7 separate regions of the Homo sapiens genome follow, and regions 1, 3, 4, 5, 6 and 7 are each linked to region 2. Evidence: promoter capture Hi-C in 16 types of primary human blood cells and fetal thymus (Javierre and others, 2016). All regions are on one chromosome and are shown on one strand. Each heading gives the region's core, a stretch centred on a gene start or on the middle of the fragment in contact. The rest is flanking DNA. Distances are from core to core; before and after follow the strand shown.

Evidence for each region. The method cuts DNA at HindIII sites, captures the fragments that hold promoters and counts their contacts. A CHiCAGO score of 5 or more calls a contact.
Region 1: a fragment that was not itself captured here is called in contact with the fragment with the promoter of RAMAC in region 2 in 6 of 17 cell types (total CD4 T cells, activated CD4 T cells, M0 macrophages and 3 more); the score reaches 6.8 in total CD4 T cells.
Region 3: a contact is called between a fragment that was not itself captured here and the fragment with the promoter of RAMAC in region 2, in 2 of 17 cell types (naive CD8 T cells and non-activated CD4 T cells). The highest score is 7.0, in naive CD8 T cells.
Region 4: a fragment that was not itself captured here is called in contact with the fragment with the promoter of RAMAC in region 2 in 7 of 17 cell types (activated CD4 T cells, naive CD8 T cells, M0 macrophages and 4 more); the score reaches 9.8 in activated CD4 T cells.
Region 5: a contact is called between a fragment that was not itself captured here and the fragment with the promoter of RAMAC in region 2, in 5 of 17 cell types (erythroblasts, total CD8 T cells, activated CD4 T cells and 2 more). The highest score is 9.7, in erythroblasts.
Region 6: a contact is called between a fragment that was not itself captured here and the fragment with the promoter of RAMAC in region 2, in 8 of 17 cell types (naive CD8 T cells, non-activated CD4 T cells, total CD4 T cells and 5 more). The highest score is 9.6, in naive CD8 T cells.
Region 7: a contact is called between a fragment that was not itself captured here and the fragment with the promoter of RAMAC in region 2, in 7 of 17 cell types (naive CD8 T cells, total CD4 T cells, non-activated CD4 T cells and 4 more). The highest score is 8.7, in naive CD8 T cells.

Annotation. Positions count from the first base shown.
Region 1 is chr15:82,581,733-82,584,634 of GRCh38, forward strand. The region is part of intron 3 of CPEB1 (cytoplasmic polyadenylation element binding protein 1); the gene reads right to left. Among named protein-coding and RNA genes, the nearest start is that of RPS17, 43 kb to the left of the region's middle. The HindIII fragment of the contact is 1,149 bases long and covers 688-1,836 here.
Region 2 is chr15:82,984,919-82,987,710 of GRCh38, forward strand. It overlaps RAMAC (RNA guanine-7 methyltransferase activating subunit), which reads left to right and starts at 1,292. Exons shown (of 4, transcript NM_031452.4): 1 at 1,292-1,451; 2 at 2,418-2,466. It also overlaps a transcript of HOMER2 not described here. The HindIII fragment of the contact is 1,767 bases long and covers 708-2,474 here.
Region 3 is chr15:82,619,907-82,622,606 of GRCh38, forward strand. All of the region lies in intron 3 of CPEB1 (cytoplasmic polyadenylation element binding protein 1), which reads right to left. Among named protein-coding and RNA genes, the nearest start is that of CPEB1, 26 kb to the right of the region's middle. The HindIII fragment of the contact is 6,371 bases long and covers 1-2,700 here.
Region 4 is chr15:82,563,098-82,565,797 of GRCh38, forward strand. All of the region lies in intron 4 of CPEB1 (cytoplasmic polyadenylation element binding protein 1), which reads right to left. Among named protein-coding and RNA genes, the nearest start is that of RPS17, 24 kb to the left of the region's middle. The HindIII fragment of the contact is 4,848 bases long and covers 1-2,700 here.
Region 5 is chr15:82,639,713-82,642,412 of GRCh38, forward strand. The region is part of intron 1 of CPEB1 (cytoplasmic polyadenylation element binding protein 1); the gene reads right to left. Among named protein-coding and RNA genes, the nearest start is that of CPEB1, 6.3 kb to the right of the region's middle. The HindIII fragment of the contact is 2,211 bases long and covers 341-2,551 here.
Region 6 is chr15:82,670,391-82,673,096 of GRCh38, forward strand. All of the region lies in intron 14 of AP3B2 (adaptor related protein complex 3 subunit beta 2), which reads right to left. All of the region lies in intron 3 of CPEB1-AS1 (CPEB1 antisense RNA 1), which reads left to right. Among named protein-coding and RNA genes, the nearest start is that of CPEB1-AS1, 24 kb to the left of the region's middle. The HindIII fragment of the contact is 8,602 bases long and covers 1-2,706 here.
Region 7 is chr15:82,687,702-82,690,401 of GRCh38, forward strand. It overlaps AP3B2 (adaptor related protein complex 3 subunit beta 2), which reads right to left. Exons shown (of 27, transcript NM_001278512.2): 2 at 1,677-1,752; 3 at 1,457-1,531; 4 at 1,035-1,130. The region is part of intron 3 of CPEB1-AS1 (CPEB1 antisense RNA 1); the gene reads left to right. Among named protein-coding and RNA genes, the nearest start is that of AP3B2, 21 kb to the right of the region's middle. The HindIII fragment of the contact is 277 bases long and covers 1,120-1,396 here.

The DNA.
Region 1 (2,902 bases), core at 12-2,511, 400 kb before region 2:
CCAATGTTTTTAAAAATCTCCCCGACACCAGGTTTTTGTTGAATTGCTTTTGTTGAATTGCCATCCAAGTGGTCCTAAAGACAATGGCATCTTCTTGCAGCATTCTACCTCACTGGTTACAGTGATGGTCCCATAGGTAAGTATCTGACTCAAGCTGGGCAAGAATTACCCATTCCCATGACTACAGAGACCAGTCCAGGTATGGGTATGACTTAAGCCAAGCTAGCTGGGTATCTTTCCTTGAGATTTTTCTAACTGTATATAATGGAAAAAGAACTATTTCCTGATTGTCCATGATGCCAAAGGATGTGAGCATATACCCTTTCTCATAACTGGCAACTCTGCAAAAGGAGATAATGAAACTCACACTGGGAAATGAGCAGAGGAAAGACAGAAATAGACAAAATTGGAGGCCACAGATTCAGTATCCCTAGCTTTCCAGTGATTCCTTCCTATTCTATGAGCTTTGTATCAACAGCGTTCCAACATACCCCACATTTTACTAAAGTAAGTTCTAATTTGGTGTTTGATTTTTTACAAACGGGAGTGTTCTGCGTAATTCAGGCCCTTTAGCAAGGATAGACCAAACAAGTAACTACTGCATGCAGGATAAAAATCTCTGGGACAAAAGCCCTTAATATCCTGGCACCAGCTAAGAAAGTCAGCCACAAAAGAAAGCAGGAAAGAAGCTTAAAGACCACCTTGTCAAATTCCTCGCCATCCCGTCTTTTTTTACTAGAAAGCACACAAGGCTCAGAGATGGCCATAAGCGACAAAGCTACTAAAAGGCAGAAGATCCAAATCTCGATTTGTTGGTCTCAAATACAGGGACTAACTGATCCCCTGACCTCTCTCCCACAATGGGACACTTTCTAGACCCAGGTCTACACTCATACATAATAACCCTACTCAGACCTGTTTTATCATTAAGTTAGCAAAGGATCCCTTTTCTGCACTCAGGTCCCCATACTGTGTACTAAACCTATCCCATCATACTAGGAGTTCTTTTTTTTTTTTTTTTTTTTTTGAGACACAGTCTCACTCTGTTGCCCCGGCTGGAGTGCAGTGGCGTGATCTGGACTCACCGCAAGCTCCGCCTCCCGGGTTCACGCCATTCTCCTGCCTCAGCCTCCCTGAGTAGCTCGGACAACAGACACTGGCCACCACGACAGCTAATTTTTTGTATTTTTAGTAGAGATGGGGTTTCATCATGTTAACCAGGATGGTCTTGATCTCCTGACCTTGTGATCCGCCCGCCTCAGCCTCCCAAAGTGCTGTAGGAGTTTAATTCTTAACACTAACTCCCTCACCCTCCCCACTACTCTCTCCACAATCTGCTACTTATTCAGCAGAAAGTCAATTTCACATTCGGGTGTTTCTAAGATTTCGCTGCTATGTGCATATATTATTTTCAAAGGCGATAATTTTACTTCTTACCCATGGAGAGCAAAAAAGACGACTGCTGATTCAAGGCTAGCATCATCCAATCTACTGCTTATGGTATGGGGGAGTTCTGAAGCACGCCATCCTGAAGACTCTGGTTCAGAGTCCTTGAATACAACATGCCATCTAGGTTGTAGGTAACAACTAGTTTTAGTAAAACTAGTATAACCAAAACACAATGAAACATTACTTTACCTGACACTACACTGTTCAAATTGGGGTCTGCAGAAGTTCCTTAAACAGTACATCAAATTGGAGACCCTTTACAGTGCCAATCACGACTGCATCTACATAATATAAAAGCCAGTTATTTAAAACAGGAAGGCAGGGTATTTCCATATAGAGGGTAAATTGGTACAACATTCTGGAGAGCAATCTGACAAAAACATTGAAAGCTTCAAAAGATTTATTCTTTGATAAAGAAATACTACTTTTAGAAATTTATCCTATGTCCAAATAATCACAGATGCAGGCAAAAGCTTTAACTTCAGGTACTTCTTATAAGTGTATAAAATAGGCACCTATTTAAACAAACTCCAAAATACGAAAACTGAATGCCAGAGGTTAACCTTTTTTGTATCATGAACCATTTGGCAGTCTGCTAAAACCAATAAACCTTCTAAGAAAAATGTTTCAAAACATATAAAATAGTAATAATATTGAAATAGTAAATAAATGTCAAGGTATGTACAATGCCTGTAAAGGAATCAATATGAATTGTCTGATCATCCTATTGATACCAAATTATTAGGTCCTGCTAATATTGTGACTTGTTGCCTAAACTTACAGTTAAAAGAAATGCAGCTGGGCTTGGTGGCTCACACCTGTAATCCCAGCACTTTGGGAGGTCGAGGCAGGTGGATCACAAGGTCAGGAGACAGAAACCATCCTGGCTAACAATGTGAAACCCAGTCTCTATTAAAAATACAAAAAATTAGCCAGGCATGGCGGTGGGCGCCTGCAGTCCCAGCTACTCAGGAAGCTGAGGCAGGAGAATGGCATGAACCCGGCAGGCAGAGCTTGCAGTGAGTGGAGATCGCACCACTGCACTCCAGCCTGGGTGACACAGCGAGACTCCGTCTCAAAAAAAAAAAAAAAAAAAAAAAAAGCTACGTTTCAGTTAAACATCACTGAACGTGAAGATACAAGTTTTTACCTGTCTAAATTATTGGACCCCCTGAATTCTATCCATGTACCCAGGTTAAGAATCCCATAATGCAGGCTGGGTGCGGTGGCTCACACCTGTAATCCCAGCACTTTGGGAGGCAAAGGTAGGTGGATCACTTGAGGTCAGGAGTTCAAGACCAGCCTGGCCAACATGGTGAAACCCCATCTCTACTAAAAATACAAAAATTAGCCAGGCGTGGTGGTGGGCACCTGTAATCTCAGCTACTCTAGAGGCTGAGGCAGGAGAATCGCTTGAACCTGGGAGGAGGAGGTTACAGTGAGCCAAGATCAC
Region 2 (2,792 bases), core at 42-2,541:
GACTTGCAAGTAAATAATTTTAGTTCGAAGTTAGAAAGTGGTAATAACTAAATACATGAAATTCCAGAAATATGATGGACTCTCAATAGAAAGAAAAATTATTTCTAGGTAGAGATGTCACTTTCTAAAGCTTTAAATAATGGAAAGAATTTCAACATTTGGAGATGAGGGGGAGAGACAGGTATTTCATGCAAGGGACATGAGCAATCTATAAAAATGTAATAATTTATGCATGACGTACTTCACAGGGTCTGGTTTACCACTGACTGAGGGAGAATGGAAGGGGAACAGCAGAAAATAAAAAAAGTTTTGAATCCAAGTTAATAAACTTGACCTTTAATCTACAGGCAACAGAGAGCCATTGGATCAGCTATTTTGGATCACGGTGGTGCTTGAAGATGGCTACACCTATAGCAGGTATATGTAAGATAGGCTAGTAGCAGAGTGATGCTAGAGGCAGGACATCAATGAGAAAGGTACTGCACTGACACCGTGCAGGGGATGGTAATGAGAACGTTGATTAGGTGGGGGCAGTGGGTAAGAAGATGCAAGAATTACTGTAGGGGTACAATCGACAGGACTTGGCAAGTGATTGGAGCATGGAAAGGCAAGAAAGGGCATCAAATCTGACATCAAAGTTTCCAAGTTGGTTGTATTAACAAAAACGGGTGCATAGCCTGGGAAGTAATTTGGGAGGGAAGAGGCCAAGCTTTGTCGGGATATTAAGTGTTTATACATTTGCTGAACATCCCACAAGACATGGGCAAGACTCTTGGAAGTAGCTGGATACTGACGACTGAAGCTGGAGCAGAGAGGGGGTATGTTTCTGCAAAACCACATACAAAACGGACTACGGAAATCTTACTACCGAGGCTTGCCCAGGCAGGAGAGAAAGGTGTAGCATCCCTGAAGTCATCAGTCGTGTCTACTCTTCACCGCCTGCTCTCACCTCACGTTCCCCACGAAGACTCCGGGAGCAGGCGGCCGGAAGGAGCCCTTCCCTCCCTTCTCCGGTGATTCCCAGAACTTCCGTCTCTACCCGTCACCTGCTCCCAATCAAAGGAGCTTAATAGACGGCGACGTTTTCGACTGCCCAGCCACCAGGCAGGCTGAAAGTGCATGGAGGGCATCATCCACCTTTAGACAGCTACTTGCCCACACCTCATCGAGCTCTGGGCGTTGTGCCAGCATTTGAAGAAGCGATCTGTTGCAAAGCGATCCACACGGAGAGCCTTAGTTATCGCGAGACTTGACAGGCACCCTCAACTTTAGCCCGCCGGAAGCGGAAGTCAGGTGGTTGTCGGATTTTAGAGGAAGGCGCTCGGTTACATTGGAGAACTGGAGTGGTCTGGAGTTCCACGGTGTAGTGGACCAGAGGCCACCTCTCCTGGGCTTCTCAGTGTCTCGCCGGCGGGGTTCGGCCTGAGCTGGATTGACATAGCCCTTGGCGGGTGAGTCGCCCCGGACGCCCGGGAGGAGGGAGCGGGGCGGCCGAGCTGGGTGGCCAGCGAGGTGTCCTCCCCCTGTGCGGTGATCTGTACTCTTTGCTAGACCGAAGCCCGTTTACTTCTCACGGCCCATAATTTCCCTCACTTCTGGAGGTATAAGGTGCTTCGGAAGGGAGCAAATCTGCCAGAACCTTGGTAAGCAAGCTGTGATGTGCCTTGAGGACGGACTGGAAAACGCAGTTGTTTTCAGTCTGCATCTTCGTCTGTTCCCCGGGCTCACCTCCCAGGGCAGCGAAACCCCATTCTGGTTGGTTATTTCCAGGGTTAGTCGCCCGCAGCCAAAGTTCTTTGTGGTTTTATTTGTGGTGAATAAATTAGCAGTATTCAAGTACAAATCTGAAAGGCTTACCCTAAAAGAACATACATACTTTATGAAGTTTGTATTCATACTTGAACTATTTTGCTTTTGAAGGCCCAGAGGACAAATCTTGTAGCTTCTTGCTCTTGAGAACCAGTTCCCTCTTTGGAATATTAGCTTTGGAAGTCTTTAGAGCGTTTTTTTGGTTTGTTTTTTGTTTTTTTTTTGAGACGGAGTCTCGCTCTGTCGCCCAGGCTGGAGTGCAGTGGCGCGATCTCCGCCTCCCAAGTTCAAGCGATTCTCCTGCCTCAGCCTCCCGAGTAGCTGGGACTACAGGCACATGCCACCACGCCTGGCTAATTTTTTCTATTTTTAGGAGAGACGAGGTTTCACCGTGTTAGCCAGGCTGGTCTCGATCTCTTGACTTCGTGATCTGCCCGCCTCGGCCTCCCAAAGTGTTGGGATTACAGAGGTGAGCCACCGCGCCTGGCCTTAGAGCACTTTTACTCCAATTCTTTCCTTGAATAAGACTCTTATGCGCCACCCTCCCCTACAAACACCTTTTGAGAGTTTCCTTAAATAAAGTCAAGTTTGTTTTTTTCCTCCCACAGATTTAAACAACCTAAACATTAAGCAGTACAGCTGCCTCAAACCTTTGGGGTAAGTAAAGCTTGGGTCGATTAACATTCTATTTAAATTTCGTTCTCAGTAATAATACAGTTGATATTTGTTTACATGAGTATGGGTGGGGAGTCGTGGGAGAACATATGAGAACATAAAAATGGAGTAGCACCTTTTCCTTGCCTTATGATTTTTACTGCCCATCTGGATTAGGTATGGGTCATCTTTTTAGTGATTTCTGTGATCCCACTAGAATTCTAGACATGATTTTTAATTAGCTGAATTTATTTAAAACTCATTCCTTGGATTTGAGAATTTGATATAGTTTGCCAATCCCAGACACATTGAAAGTCTGATATTTGGTA
Region 3 (2,700 bases), core at 116-2,615, 360 kb before region 2:
CCTCTCCTAGGAAGATAACCAAGGGAAATTAATTCACCAAAAGATAATAGCAGCACTATTCGCAATGGCCCCAAACTGGAAACAACTCAAATGCCTATTAACAGTATAATGAATAAGCACTGGTACATTCATACAATGGAATACTGTAAAGCAACAGGAATCAATGACCCACAACCAGTTGCAACATGGATGAAACTCACAGCTAAAGAGTACATATCTGGGCCGGGTGTGGTTGCTCACCCCTATAATCTCAGCACTTTGGGAAGCCAAGGCAGGCGGATCACGAGGTCAGGAGTTTGAGACCAGCCTTGCCAATATGGTGAATATGGCCAGTATGTCTCTACTATGTCTCTACTAAAAATACAAAAATTAGCCGGGTGTGGTGGCATGTGCCTGTAGTCCCAGCTACTTGGGAGGCTGAGGGAGAAGAATCCCTTGAACCTGGGAGGCGGAGGATGCAGGGAGCCAAGATCACACCACTGCACTGTAGTCTGGGCGACAGAGCAAGACTCTGTCTCAAAAAGAAAAAAAAAGTGTACATATCTGTGATTCCATTTATGTAAATTCAAAATCAGGTACAATTTATCTATGCAATTAAAAGTCAGCATGAACTGGGTGTGGTGGCTCATGCCTATAATCCCAACACTTTCGGAAGCCAAGGCAAGGAATTTGCTTAAGCCCAAGAGTCCAAGACCAGCCTGGTCAACACAGCAAGATTCTGTCTCTACAAAAACTTAAAAAAAAAAATTAGTTGGGCATGGTGGCGCATGATTGCAGTCCCATCTACTCAGAAGGCTGAGGCAAGAGGATCACTTGAGCCCAGGAGTTCAAGGCTGCAGTGAGCTATGATCATACAACTGTGCTGCAGCCTGGGTGACAGTGATACCCCATCTCAGAAAAATAAAAATTTAGCATAACAAGTGCCCTTTGTAAACTAGAGACTGAAAGGACTGCAAGGGGAATTTTGGTGTATTCTTAATTTTTGCCTCTACATGTGACTAGTTATACAAGATGTGTTCAGTATATAAAAATTCAGTGAATAGTACACTCATACTTTTCTGTAAGTTAACTTCAACAACACAAGTTAAATCGTTGCCACTTAACTGTTAAAGCCACACAGTAAGGTTCCATAAAAGTTTATTTTGTGGGAAACAAGACTTCATGAGAGTAATTTCAATCATTTCCTGCAAGATGGGACTGAATGTATTAAACTTTGTTTTGGAATAGCTTTTCAGACAATTTAGTGACGATACGGTTTATGATCCAGTACAATAAGAAGTGAAACCATCTCAGTCAAAAATTCAACATTAGTCATGCCAGTAATCCCAGCAACTTGGGAGGCTGAGGCAGGAGGATGGCTTGAGGCCAGGAGTCTGAGACCAGCCTGGGCAACACAGTGACACCATGTCTCTTAAAAAAAAAAAAAAAATCCAGGCCAGGTGCAGTGGCTCACGCCTGTAATCCCAGCACTTTGGGAGGCCGAGGCAGGCGGATCACCTGAGGCCAGGAGTTCAAGACCAGCCTGACCAATATGGAGAAACCCCGTCTCTACTAAAAATACAAAATTAGCCAGGGGTGGTGGCACATGCCTGTAATACCAGCTACTCAGGAGGCTGAGGCAGGAGACTCACTTGAACCCGGGCAGAGGTTGCGGTGAGCCAAGATCCCGCCATTGCACTCCAGCCTGGGAAACAAGAGTGAAACTCCATCTCAGAAAAAAAAAAAAAAAATCTAACATCAGGCTACAACTATACAATTCTTTGGTCCTACATTAAAAGTCAGCAGTCTATTTAGGTCTGAGAGCTGGTTACATGGTTGTGTTCAGTTTGGGAAAGTTGGAGCTCTTCGCCTATGATACAGCATGTACTTTCCTGTATGTGTATTATATTTCAGTTTTTAAAAACTGTTAAATAAACATATCAGTGCTAAACCTTACTTAGGACTGCTTTGGCTAGTCAATTCCTTTCTAAACCTCCAAGCTATTTTAACTGATTATTGAGAAATGGCATCTCAGTGAATTAATATGAAACTGCTCCTCCAATCATTGCCTCCATCCTAAATATTAAGTCTCCCTACCCATATAGCAGTTAAGACATCCCTTAATGATGTTTCACCACTTTTCACATCTTTACAGACACCGTTACTAACAACTCAACACATTAATGCTTAAATCACATGTCCATTTGCAGCCCATTTTCTCCATTCCTCACAGATTCCAAAAGGTCTATGGCTTAAAGGACTAGGGAATGTGGAGAGGGCCCTCTAGGTGGCAGACATCCCTGTCATCTCCACTAGACAGTTGTTGGGGTAGGAAATCCAGCTCTGGCCTGACCTTCCAGCCCCACCCTAGCTCCTACCACCCATCATGCAACAAGGGCCTTCTTGGTGGGGTACTAGCCCAAAAGCTCAGGCCTTTGCAAAACCCTCTTAAACCACAGCAAGTCATAACTTTCTTGTATATAAACGGGGAATTCAGATGCTCCAGCTACTCTTTCCCTGCCCCGCCACATCTCTCTCCAGAGTCGCACTCTATCACCCAGGCTGGAATACAGAGTGCAACCTCGGCTCACTGCAACCTCCGACTCCCCGGTTCAAGCAATTCTCCTGCCTCAGCCTCCCGGACTACAGGCACGCACCATCATGCCCGGTTAATTTTTCTATTTTTAATAGAGACAAGGTTTCGCCATGTTGGTCAGGCTG
Region 4 (2,700 bases), core at 17-2,516, 420 kb before region 2:
TAGAACAAGCTGATCACTGTGAAAAACATTCAAGACAACCCAAGGGACTTTGTAAGCTCACACGGAGCAAAACCAAAAGGAGCAAGGGCCTACTTAGAGCAGAAAGAGAAAAATGTTATTAAGGATTTAAGGACATTACTGGGTCACTTGACAAAACTGGAATATGAATGACAGTTTAATCAAAGTAGTGTTATCAACTTTAAATTGACTAAAGTTAACTGTTTTGTTACATATGAATGTATGTAAGATCATCTCTATTCTTTTTTTTTTTTTTTTTTTTTTTTGAGCAAGGGTCTCCCTCTGTAACCCAGGCTAGAGCGCAGGTGCACAATTACAGCTCACTGCAGTCTCAACCTCCCACTTCAGCCTCCAAAGTAGCTAGCGGCATGCCACCATGTCTGACTAATTTTTTTTTTTTTTTTTTGGTAGAGGCAGGATCTCACTCTGTTGCCCAGGCTGGTCTTGAACTCCTGGGCTCAAGCAATCCTCCTGCCTCAGCCTCCCAAAGTACTCAGGTCACAGGTGTGAGCCTCCGTGCCTGGGCCAATTATCTCTCCTCTTAATGATTCAGAAAACAATTATGTATTGATACATGGAGAGAGAATGTGCAAATGATAAAGCAAATGGGGTAAAATGAACACGAACAATAGGAGGTTCTGGATAAAAAGGATTACAAATATTCTTTGTATAATTTTATTTGTATAACTTCTATAAATTTGAAATTATTTCCATTTTTTTTTAATGACAGGAAGAAAAACAAGTCAATTCCCATTTGGCTTTCTTTGCCTCTTTCAAGGTAACTTATCTAATCAGCAGAGGGAAATCAAGCACAAGTAATAGGAACTAGGATCCCAGAGGATAAGACAGTAATTGAGTACTTTTGGAGTCTCTATTAGAAGAAATAATCTTTTAAACATGCTTTTTAAAGTCTCAAAAAAATCTGCATAGATATTTGCAGGCCCACATGTGTAAAAAGTTGTGCCTTCTCAACCAAGCATACCAAGACCAATCTTTACCATCCTACTCCAATAGCAATTAGCTCAACATCTGGCAAAAAGCAGGTGAACAATGACTGCTGAATTCTACTGAAAGACAGAGAGTACGTATTCCATAGAGCCAGTACGCTAAGGCCCTACCCTTTTCTATCAAGGATATTCAATTTAAGGACACAATGGTTTTTTTTGTTTTTTTGTTTTGTTTTTTTTTGAGACGGAGTCTCGCTCTGTTGCCCAGGCTGGAGTGCGGTGGCGTGATCTCAGCTCACTGCAAGCTCTGCCTCCCGGGTTCACGCCATTCTCCTGCCTCAGCCTCCCGAGTAGCTGGGACTACAGGCACCTGCCACCACACCCGGCTAATTTTGTGTGTGTGTGTGTTTTTAGCAGAGATGGGGTTTCACCGTGTTAGCCAGGATGGTCTTGATCTCCTGACCTTGTGATCCACCCGCCTCAGCCTCCCAAAGGGCTGGAATTACAGGCGTGAGCCACTGCGCCCAGCCTAAGGACACAATGTTGACTTAGAGTGTAATACAGATTTAGGGGAATAAACCTTAACTCATCCCTACCCAGCCCATCGCCAAAACAGAGGTTTAAAAACCAGTGACTCACCGCATCACATCTGCGACAATACTTCTTCCCTGAGTCTCAATTTCTTCAAAGAGAAAAAGGTTGAAGAAAGCTCCTCTGCTTGAGGAGGGGCAGGGTGGAAATCACTCTGTCCTAATCAACCCTCCCCAGACTCTACTGGGATCTTCAGGGCCACTGCAATACACTCCTACATTCAAGTACAGGAGCAAGAAAGAGTGTCTCACTGAATTATATACCAACCACATAGAAAAACGGGGAAAGGACTTGGATTGATGGCTCAGAAAGGGGCAATGCCATCCTAGAGAATAGGATCAGGGTGCCCCAGAATTAACACGTGGGATGTCAGCATCTCCATGCATCAGTTTCCTGCAAATATTAAATCAGAAGGGATATACTGTAAATTTGACTAGAAGATACCAAGAAGACAAGAGGCCTAGAACTTGCCAGCTGGTTTGATATTTCCTTCAACCCACAGAACAAGTGAATTTTGTGGAAACTGCCACCCATGGTCAGATGCCCTAGAGTGACCTAATTGTACCTCTATAGGGTCTGGCCAGGCAGTTCTCTGAGTGTCTACAGATCAAAGGAAGGAAAGCAGCAAAGACAATGGAAAGAAAGCAGCAAAGCAGCAAAGACAAAGGGAAGTGGGGGGACCTCATTTCAAGAAAGAAAACCTGTCTTGCTCCCAGCTCATGAGACCATACCTGCCCTATGTAAGGTTGCTGAGTACGCAGCACCGATTTCCACCAGCTGGGAATCAGAAGGAAAGGAGCAAAATAGCTAGCGTTAGACTGTTCCCATTTATATTCAAAGCCACGAGCATACCTAACTGGAAAGGCATTCTCTTTAAGCCACACAAACTAAAATCCAGTGGAAATGACAGGTCCCTTATAATGCAGGCCAGTGTCTCATCTCAAAGTCCACTCCCCATCATGGGGCACACAACTTCATAATTCCAAATGTCAAGTATTAACCTAGATGGATTAGAGGAGGGGGAGGGGTGGTGAGAAGTCCTAGAGTCAATCTCCAATAACGGCCAAGGCCCTGACCTCTTTGCTCTGTTCTTTCCTGGCCTCCAGAACACAAGGGATCATGGAAAGTCTGAGGTTTACCAAGT
Region 5 (2,700 bases), core at 196-2,695, 350 kb before region 2:
AGTGACTTACTATACCCAAAGGAACAAACAATATGGTTTATGCTGAACATCGGCTTTCCTCCTGGAGTCTGAAATTTTGGTACATTTCAGGCAGAGGCTACCTATTCAACCAGTCCTCAGACACACACGCGCAAACACTCTCTCTCTCTCTCTCTCTCTGGGTGCCCAGATTCTAACAAGCTATTCTGGCTGGCAACATTTTACATATGTTGTCAGTTGTAGGGGAATTAAACTATGTCCTGTTTAACTCTCCCGGGAAAAGAACATTGGAAGCTTGTACCAGATTTCACCCCACGTGCCTTTTCCCTTTGATGGTTTTTCTCCATATCCTTTAGCTGTAAGCTTAGCTATGAGAACCACTATATGCTGACTCCTGTGAATCTTCCTAGTCAATCATCTAATTTAGGCACTGTCTTGGGGGACCAGACATAACAGGCGTTTGTTGTTTTGTCCTATTTTTAGGGACAGGGTCTGGATATGTGGTCCAGACCAGAATTGAACTCCTAGGCTCAAGGGATTCTCCTGCCTCAGCCTCCCCGGTAGCTGGTACTACAGGTGCCACAACTAGCTTGCTTTTTCTTCAGATTTTGAATATTATGAATAAAACTGCTGTGAATATTCTTGTGCATGCCTTTTTATACTCATATGTGCTCATTTCTCTTGCACATAGGAACACAAGTGGACTACCAGGTCATAAGCTAGTACCCCTTGCGCTTAAAATTCTAGCAATACTGTACTTCTAGTTGCCTAAAAACAGCCCTGTTTCATATCTCCTTGTCCTTATACATGTTGTTCCTTTTGCCTAGAATGTCCTTCCCACTCCCTACACTATGCCTGTTTTGGCAATAACCTTTAAATCTTTTACCTGCCTACTTCTGATGTTATTTCTGATGAGGAAAAGGAAGAAATTGGTTCTGTTTTTATATCTGCTGGGTTTAACATACCTCAGATAGATACACGCATTCGGTAGTCCAATCAGAAGTATAAGTCTTCAGAACAACCAAGGCTAAAGAGCTCAATCTAAAACTTGGGCACACAACAGTCAACTGGTGCTTCTATAGGAACACATGGGTCTCCTGTATATATAAGGAGACAGGAATGATCCAACAGGGTTGAACTGTGAAGAATGCGGCATTTGGGGAGAAAAGGAAGCCTGCAAGTACCAAGACAAGACAAGATTGATCAGATAAGGAAAAAAAAAAAAAAGGAAGCCATAGTCTTACAAACCAAATGGACATTTCAAGTACAATAAGAGACCAACACAGCAGAGGTAAGAGTGTATGAATTTTACAAATAGTACTAGTCTAGAAATGAGAAAACGTGGGTTCAAGTTCTGTCTCTATTCCCTGCTCACAGTATAAAATTAGGGTAATCACTTTCCATTCTAAACTTAATTCTCCTAGTCCATGAAAAGAGGATGTCAGAGATTATATCTGGCTTTGGTGTCAACTCCAAGTTATATGTAGGAGACAGGTCTCTAACACCTTTTGAGCTTCACAACAATTCCAAGATTACAGCTTTAAAAAAAAACAAAAACAAAAACAAAAAGCCTCAGGAGAAAGGGCAGACACATGGGAGACAGACAGATGGTGTCAGGGCCAGAACCCAGGAGCACAAAGCCAGAATGCAGAGAGCACAGGTGTTAAGTAGTAAGAGATTAAGTGTTCTGTAAAAAGACACAAAAAAACCAACCTGCCCTTCACAGTAACTGTTCTCTTCCAACAGAGGAGAGCTACTCCCACACTTTTATCAAAGGGGATTGTAGGAAGTGGGGCTAAATCTGTCAGGATGGTACATAAAGCAGCATATTATGCTGGCCAAGAATAAAGAAACAAGTAACACTCTTAGTCAAGTTACTCCTAAAATCAATAGCTACTTGCAACCAAGACCCGTTTTTAGCATACAAACCAACCTTTAGACCTGCCCTCTGGGGATTCTCCTGTTACCTCAGGGGAACTCATCACGAATGCCTTAAATAAATCAAAACAAAGAGTGTTAACTCACTATAATTTAAAAGGACTGTTCCACCATTCAAGAATACAAAAAAAAAAAAAAAGAATTCAAAGGTTATCCATGCCTAAGTGTTCTCCTGAACTACTGAAAGTAAAGCTCAACCCCAGTCAGTCAGGAATCCTCCCAGGTCCAAGTTAATCAAAACCACATTATATATTAGGGTGGCAAAATAATCCCTAACATTGGGCTTTAAAATGACACCTAATAAAATTCATTGGAAATTACATCTACAATGTGAATTTAGCACTCTGAAATTTGGATACTAACTTTTTACAGCAAGTCAGATAATTTTCCTATGAAAATATGAAATATTACATCATACATGTTTTAGTTCAATCTTTTTCAGCTAGTTTACTATAATTGAGAAATGCACTGTTGGGGCAGGTCCTATCTTCAACATAAAAACTTTCTACGGAATCTGTGCTCACAGAAGATGAGACGCTCTAAAGCAGGCTGCAACAACGGCAGGAAAAAACTAAGGGCATTTCCAAAACTGCAATGTTGGGTGCAAAGGAAGCAAAGTTCATGGTGACCAAAAAGCTTTAAGAGCCTGCATGGTGGCTCATACCTGTAATCCCAATACTCTGGGAGGCTGAGGCAGGAGGATGGCTTGAGCCGAGGATAAGCCTGGCCAACATAGTGAAACCCCATCTCAAAGAAAAAATTTTTTAAAAAGTAGCCAAACAT
Region 6 (2,706 bases), core at 139-2,638, 310 kb before region 2:
TGAGCCACCACGCCTGGCCGTGAATTCATTTTTGACAAAGGTATCAAGAACATACATTAGGGAAAGGAGAGTCTCTTCAATAAATGGCGCTGGGAAAACGGGATATCCACATGCAGAACAATAAAACCAGACCCCTATCTCTCACCATATGCAAAAATCAAATCATAGTGGATTAAAAACTTAAATCTAACACTTCAAACTATGAAACTAATAAAAGAAAACATTAGAGAAATTCTCCAGGACATTGTACTGGGCAAAGATTTCTTGAGTGATACCCCACAAGCACGGGCAACCAAAGCAAAAGTAGACAAATGGGATCACATCAAGTTACAAAGGTTCTGCACAGCAAAGGAATCAACAAAGAGACAAGCCACAGAATAGGAGGAAAAAATTTGCAAACTACCCATCTGACAAGGGATTAATAACCAGAATACGTAAGGAGATCAAATAACTCAATAGGAAAAAAAAATTCAATAATCCAATTTAAAAATGGGCAAAAGAGCTGAATAGACATTTCTCAAAAGAAGACATACAGATAGCAAACACGTATATGAAAAGGTGATCAACATCATTGAGCATCAGAGAAATGCAAATCAAAACTACAATGAAAGGCCAGGCACGGGTGGCTCATGCCTGTAATCCCAGTACTTTGGGAGGCTGAGGCAGGCGGATCACCTGAGATCAGGAGTTGAGACCAGCCTGACCAACACAGCGAAACCCCATCTTTACTAAAAGTACAGAAATTAACGGGGCGTGGTGACGCACGCCTGTAGTCCCAGCTACTCAGGAGGCTGAGGCAGGAGAATCACTTGAACCACAGAGGCAGAGGTTGCAGTGAGCCAAGATCGCACCACTGCACACTCCAGCCTGGGTGACAGAGCAAGACTCCGTCTCAAAAAACAAAACAAAACAAAAAAAGATATATCATCTCACCCCAAGTAGGCTTATATCCAAAAGATAGGCAATAACAAATGCTGACAAGAACATGGAGAAAAGGCAACCCTTGTACACTGTTAGTGGAAATGTCTGGAGAACAGTTTGGAGGTTCCTTAAAAAACTAAACATAGGCCGGGCACGGTGGCTCACACCTGTAATCCCAGCACTTTGGGAGGCCGAGGTGGGTGGATCGCGAGGTCAAGAGATCAAGACCATCCTGGCCAACATGGTGAAACCCTGTCTCTACTAAAAATACAAAAAATTAGCTAGGCGTGGTGGCAGGCACCTGTAATCTCAGCTACTTGGGAGGCTGAGGCAGAAGAAGAATCACTTGCACCCAGGAGGCAGAGGTTGCAGTGAGGCAAGATCACGCCATTGCACTCCAGCCTGGGAAAAAAGAGTGAAACACCATCTCAAAAAAAAACACTACAAATAGGCCAGGTGCAGTGGCTCACGCCTGTAATCCCAGCACTTTGGGAGGCCGAGTCGGGCAGATCACTTGCGGCCAGGAGTTCAAGACCAGCCTGGCCAACATGGTGAAACCCCATCTCTACTAAAAATATGAAAATTAGCCAGACTTGGTGGCGGGCGCCTGTAATCCCAGCTACTCAGGAGGCTGAGGCAGGAGAATCGTTTGAACCTGGGAGGCGGAGGTTGCAGTGAGCTGAGATCATGCCATTGCACTCCAGCCTGGGTGACAGTGCAAGACTCCATCTCAAACAAACAAACAAAAACTAAAAATAGTGCTACCATATGATCCAGCAATCCCAATGCTATGTATATACCCAAAAGTAAGGAAATCAACATATTGAAGTTATATCTGCACACCTACGTTTATTGCAGCACTGTTCACCATAGCCAAGATTTGAAAGCAACTTAAGTGTCTATCAACAGACAAATAGATAAAGAAAATACGGTACATATGCACAATGCAGTACTATAAAAAAAGAATAAAAAAGAATGAGATCCTGTCATTTGCAACAACATGGATAGAACTAGAGGTCATTATTTTAAGTGAAATAAGCCAAGCACAGAAAAACAAACTTCACATGTTCTCACTTATTTGTGAGGGCTAAAAATTAAAAGAATTGAGCTCATGGAGTTGGAGAGTAGAATAATGGTTACCAGAGGCTGAGAAGGGTAGTGGGTGGGGGAAGTGGGGATAGTTAATGGGTACAAAATTATAGTTAGATAGAATGTGTAAGATCTAGTATTTGACAGCACAACAGGGTGACTACAGTCAACAATAATTTATTATACATTTATAAATAACTAAGAGAGTGTAATTTGATTGTTTGTAACACAAAAGATAAATGCTTGAGAGGATGGATACCCCATTCCCTGATGTGATTGTTATGCATTATATGCCTGTATCAAAATATCTCACATACCCCATAAATATATACACCTACTATGTACCCATAAAAATTAAAAAATAAAAAGAAGACGGTCTTGCTAGCAGACTGGCTCTAGAGACTTTCTCCCTTGTGGCTTTGGAGAAATTAAGCATCCGTGTTGGGAGGCCCCTATGGCAATGAGCTAAGGACGGCCTCTAGAAGGCAAGGGCAGCCCCCAGCTGACAGCCAGCAAGAAGCCAGGGCCACAATCCTACAACTGCAAGGAAGTGGATCGTGGCACCATGTGACTTGGAAGTGGACCTTTCCCCAGTACAGCCTCCAGATAAAAACTCAGCCTTGGCTGACACCTCAGTTGTAGCCTTGCATAAGATCCAACTAAGCCATACCTGAATTCTCGACCCATAGACACTGA
Region 7 (2,700 bases), core at 8-2,507, 300 kb before region 2:
GGGGTGGGCCCTGGATTTGAGCAGCAATCCTGTCTACCCAGCAACCTACAGAACTTCTGGATATGAAAAGATGAGCTGGACCTTTCACAATCTCTCTCACAGAAATTTGAACTAAAAGTATCCAGGCTAGGAGTATTAGCTCATCCCTGTAATCCCAGCACTTTGGGAAGCTGAGGCCACTTGAGCCCAGGAGTCCAAGACCAGCATAGGCAACAGGGTGAAACCCCATCTCTACAAAAACTACAAAAAAATTAGCCGAGCATGGTGATGCAGGCTGAGTAGTCGCAGCTACTCAGGAGACAGAGGTGGGAGAATCACCTGAGCTCAGGGAAGTCGAGGCTCCAGTGAGCCATGATTGCACCACTGCACTCCAGCCTGGGCAACACAGTGAGAACCTGTCTCATAAATAAATAAATAAATAAAGGTATGCAAAAATAGAGGAGTTAATGGTTGTAATCAGAGCTGAAAAATCCAATATGGAGAGAATGGCCTTGAAATGGCTGTCTTTACCCTCAAGATGTCTTAGACTAACCAGAAAAGCCCTTAGGGGGGAGACTTATACATGCACCTAACATATGTAAATCCAACTAGAGGCCTTGGGCAAAATGAAACAAAAGGTGAGAATGGTGTGGGGGATTCAGGCCACTGCTAAAGGTTGAAATCTACCTGGCTGTGGACCACAATTCACACCTTTACACAAAGGGGGGTGAGGGTTGAGGGGTTCTCCATTGCTAGAGACTCTCCACTCTCCGGGGGCTCAAGTGGTTCATACTAGAAGCAGCCATTACCACAGGCTCCTGGGAAGAGAGACAGGGGCCCTGGGTACCCACTTCATCTCTTACGCCCCTTCTGAGCCCAGCTTCCACTCTCTGAGGGTCTGGCTGGCCTCTTCTGACTGTGACCCTCCCAATTTTAGGCAGGTAGGAAGGGGTCTGCAGAGCCCGCTCCCATGCTCATGGCCTCTCCCCAGGCCTACTCCTCCGATACAGCGCCAACGAGGCCCAGGCCCTGGGAGGCAAACTGAGACCCCTGACCTTTAGGCCACGTTGGAAGGTGGAGATGGACAGCAGGGCCAGGTCTTGCTGCTCCTCAGCGTAGCGTACCAGGTACACATAGACAAGCTTCTTCACCTTGGGGAGAGCACGTTTCTCAGCAGAACGCTTCTCAGCAGGCACCTGTGCCCACCCCCCTACCCCTGGGATGTCATCTCCCCAGCCAGCTGCGGTCCATGGGGACAAACTCTCCCAGTGGGGGAGAGCACCCCTGAGTGTATCCGGGTCCTTTACCTTGATCCACATCCAGTTCAGGGACATGGAGACAGTGTCTTCTCCTGGCTCAGAGACATTTCTCAGCAGGTCGGGCCCCCAGGGGCTAAATCATTTCCTTCCTCACCCCAAGCTTGAGTGTGGTCCTGGGGGAGGTGGGGACAAGCAATCCCTCACCAGGTAGTGCTCACCTCTATGTTCTTACAGGCCACGTTCTTCACCACCGCGGGAAACAGGTCTGAAGCATTCTTTCCTCGGGCAATCATCTGGGTGGTGGGGTCAAGGTAGGGGAAGAGGGACAAAGCGAGAGGCACAGCACTAACTAGAGGGAAGGTCTACAAGGAGCTAAGGAGAGCTGCTCTTGGCCACCCAGGCCCCGCCCGGAGGGAGGCCTCCTCCTTCCCCTCTTACCGCCACAATCCTCTTCATGGCCTCCAGCTTGAGAGAATCCTTGTTGGTGTCCAGCATCTCCTTCAGGTCATCATGCCTGGTGGGAGGTACAAGAAGTCAGCTGAGGGCACAAGGGTGGGGATGGGGTATTAATCAGGAGGGTCCAGGCACAAAGAAGGGACATGGCCAGGGGAGGCTCAGGCAGGACCTGACCCGAGGAGGGACCAGAGCCAGGGGGAACAAGTAAAGTACAGATCAGGGGAAACATGTGGCCAGCTAATATTGTGGGTTGAACTGTGTCCTTCCTAAAAAGGATATATTTAAGTCTTAACCCCTAGTACCTCAGAATGTAACCTTATTTGGAAATAGAGTTGTTGCAGATGTAATTAGTTAAATGCAATCCTACTCTAATAGAGTGGGTCTCTAATCCCATGTCTGGTTTCCCATAAGAAGACAGCCATGTGGGCTGGGTGTGGCGGCTCACGCCTGTAATCCCAGCACTTTGGGAAGCTGAGACGGGAGGATCACTTGAGCCCTGGAGTTCGAGACCAGCCTGGCAACATGGTGAAACAATGTGTCTACAAAAAATAGATTAAATTGAAATTAAAAAAACACAAAAAACAAAAGACAGCCACTTAAAGAGACAGACACAGGGAGACTACCATGTGAAGGCAGACGATTGGAAAGATGCGTCTACAAGCCAGGGAATGCCAGAGACTGCCAGCAAACAACCAGAAGCTAGAAGGGGCAAAGAAGGATTTCCCTATGGGTTTCAGAGGGAGCATGGTCCTGCCGACACCTTGAGTTCAGACTTTTGGCCTCCAGAGCTGTGAGACAATTCATTTCTGCTGTTCCAACCAACCCAATTGTTGTACTTTTTTTTTTCAATTACTAAACTTTTTTTTTTTAATTATACTTTTAAGTTCTAGGGTACATGTGCACAACGTGCAGCTTTGTTACATATGTATACATGTGCCATGTTGGTGTGCTGCACCCATTAATTCGTCATTTACATTAGGTATTCCTCCTAATGCTATCCCTCCCT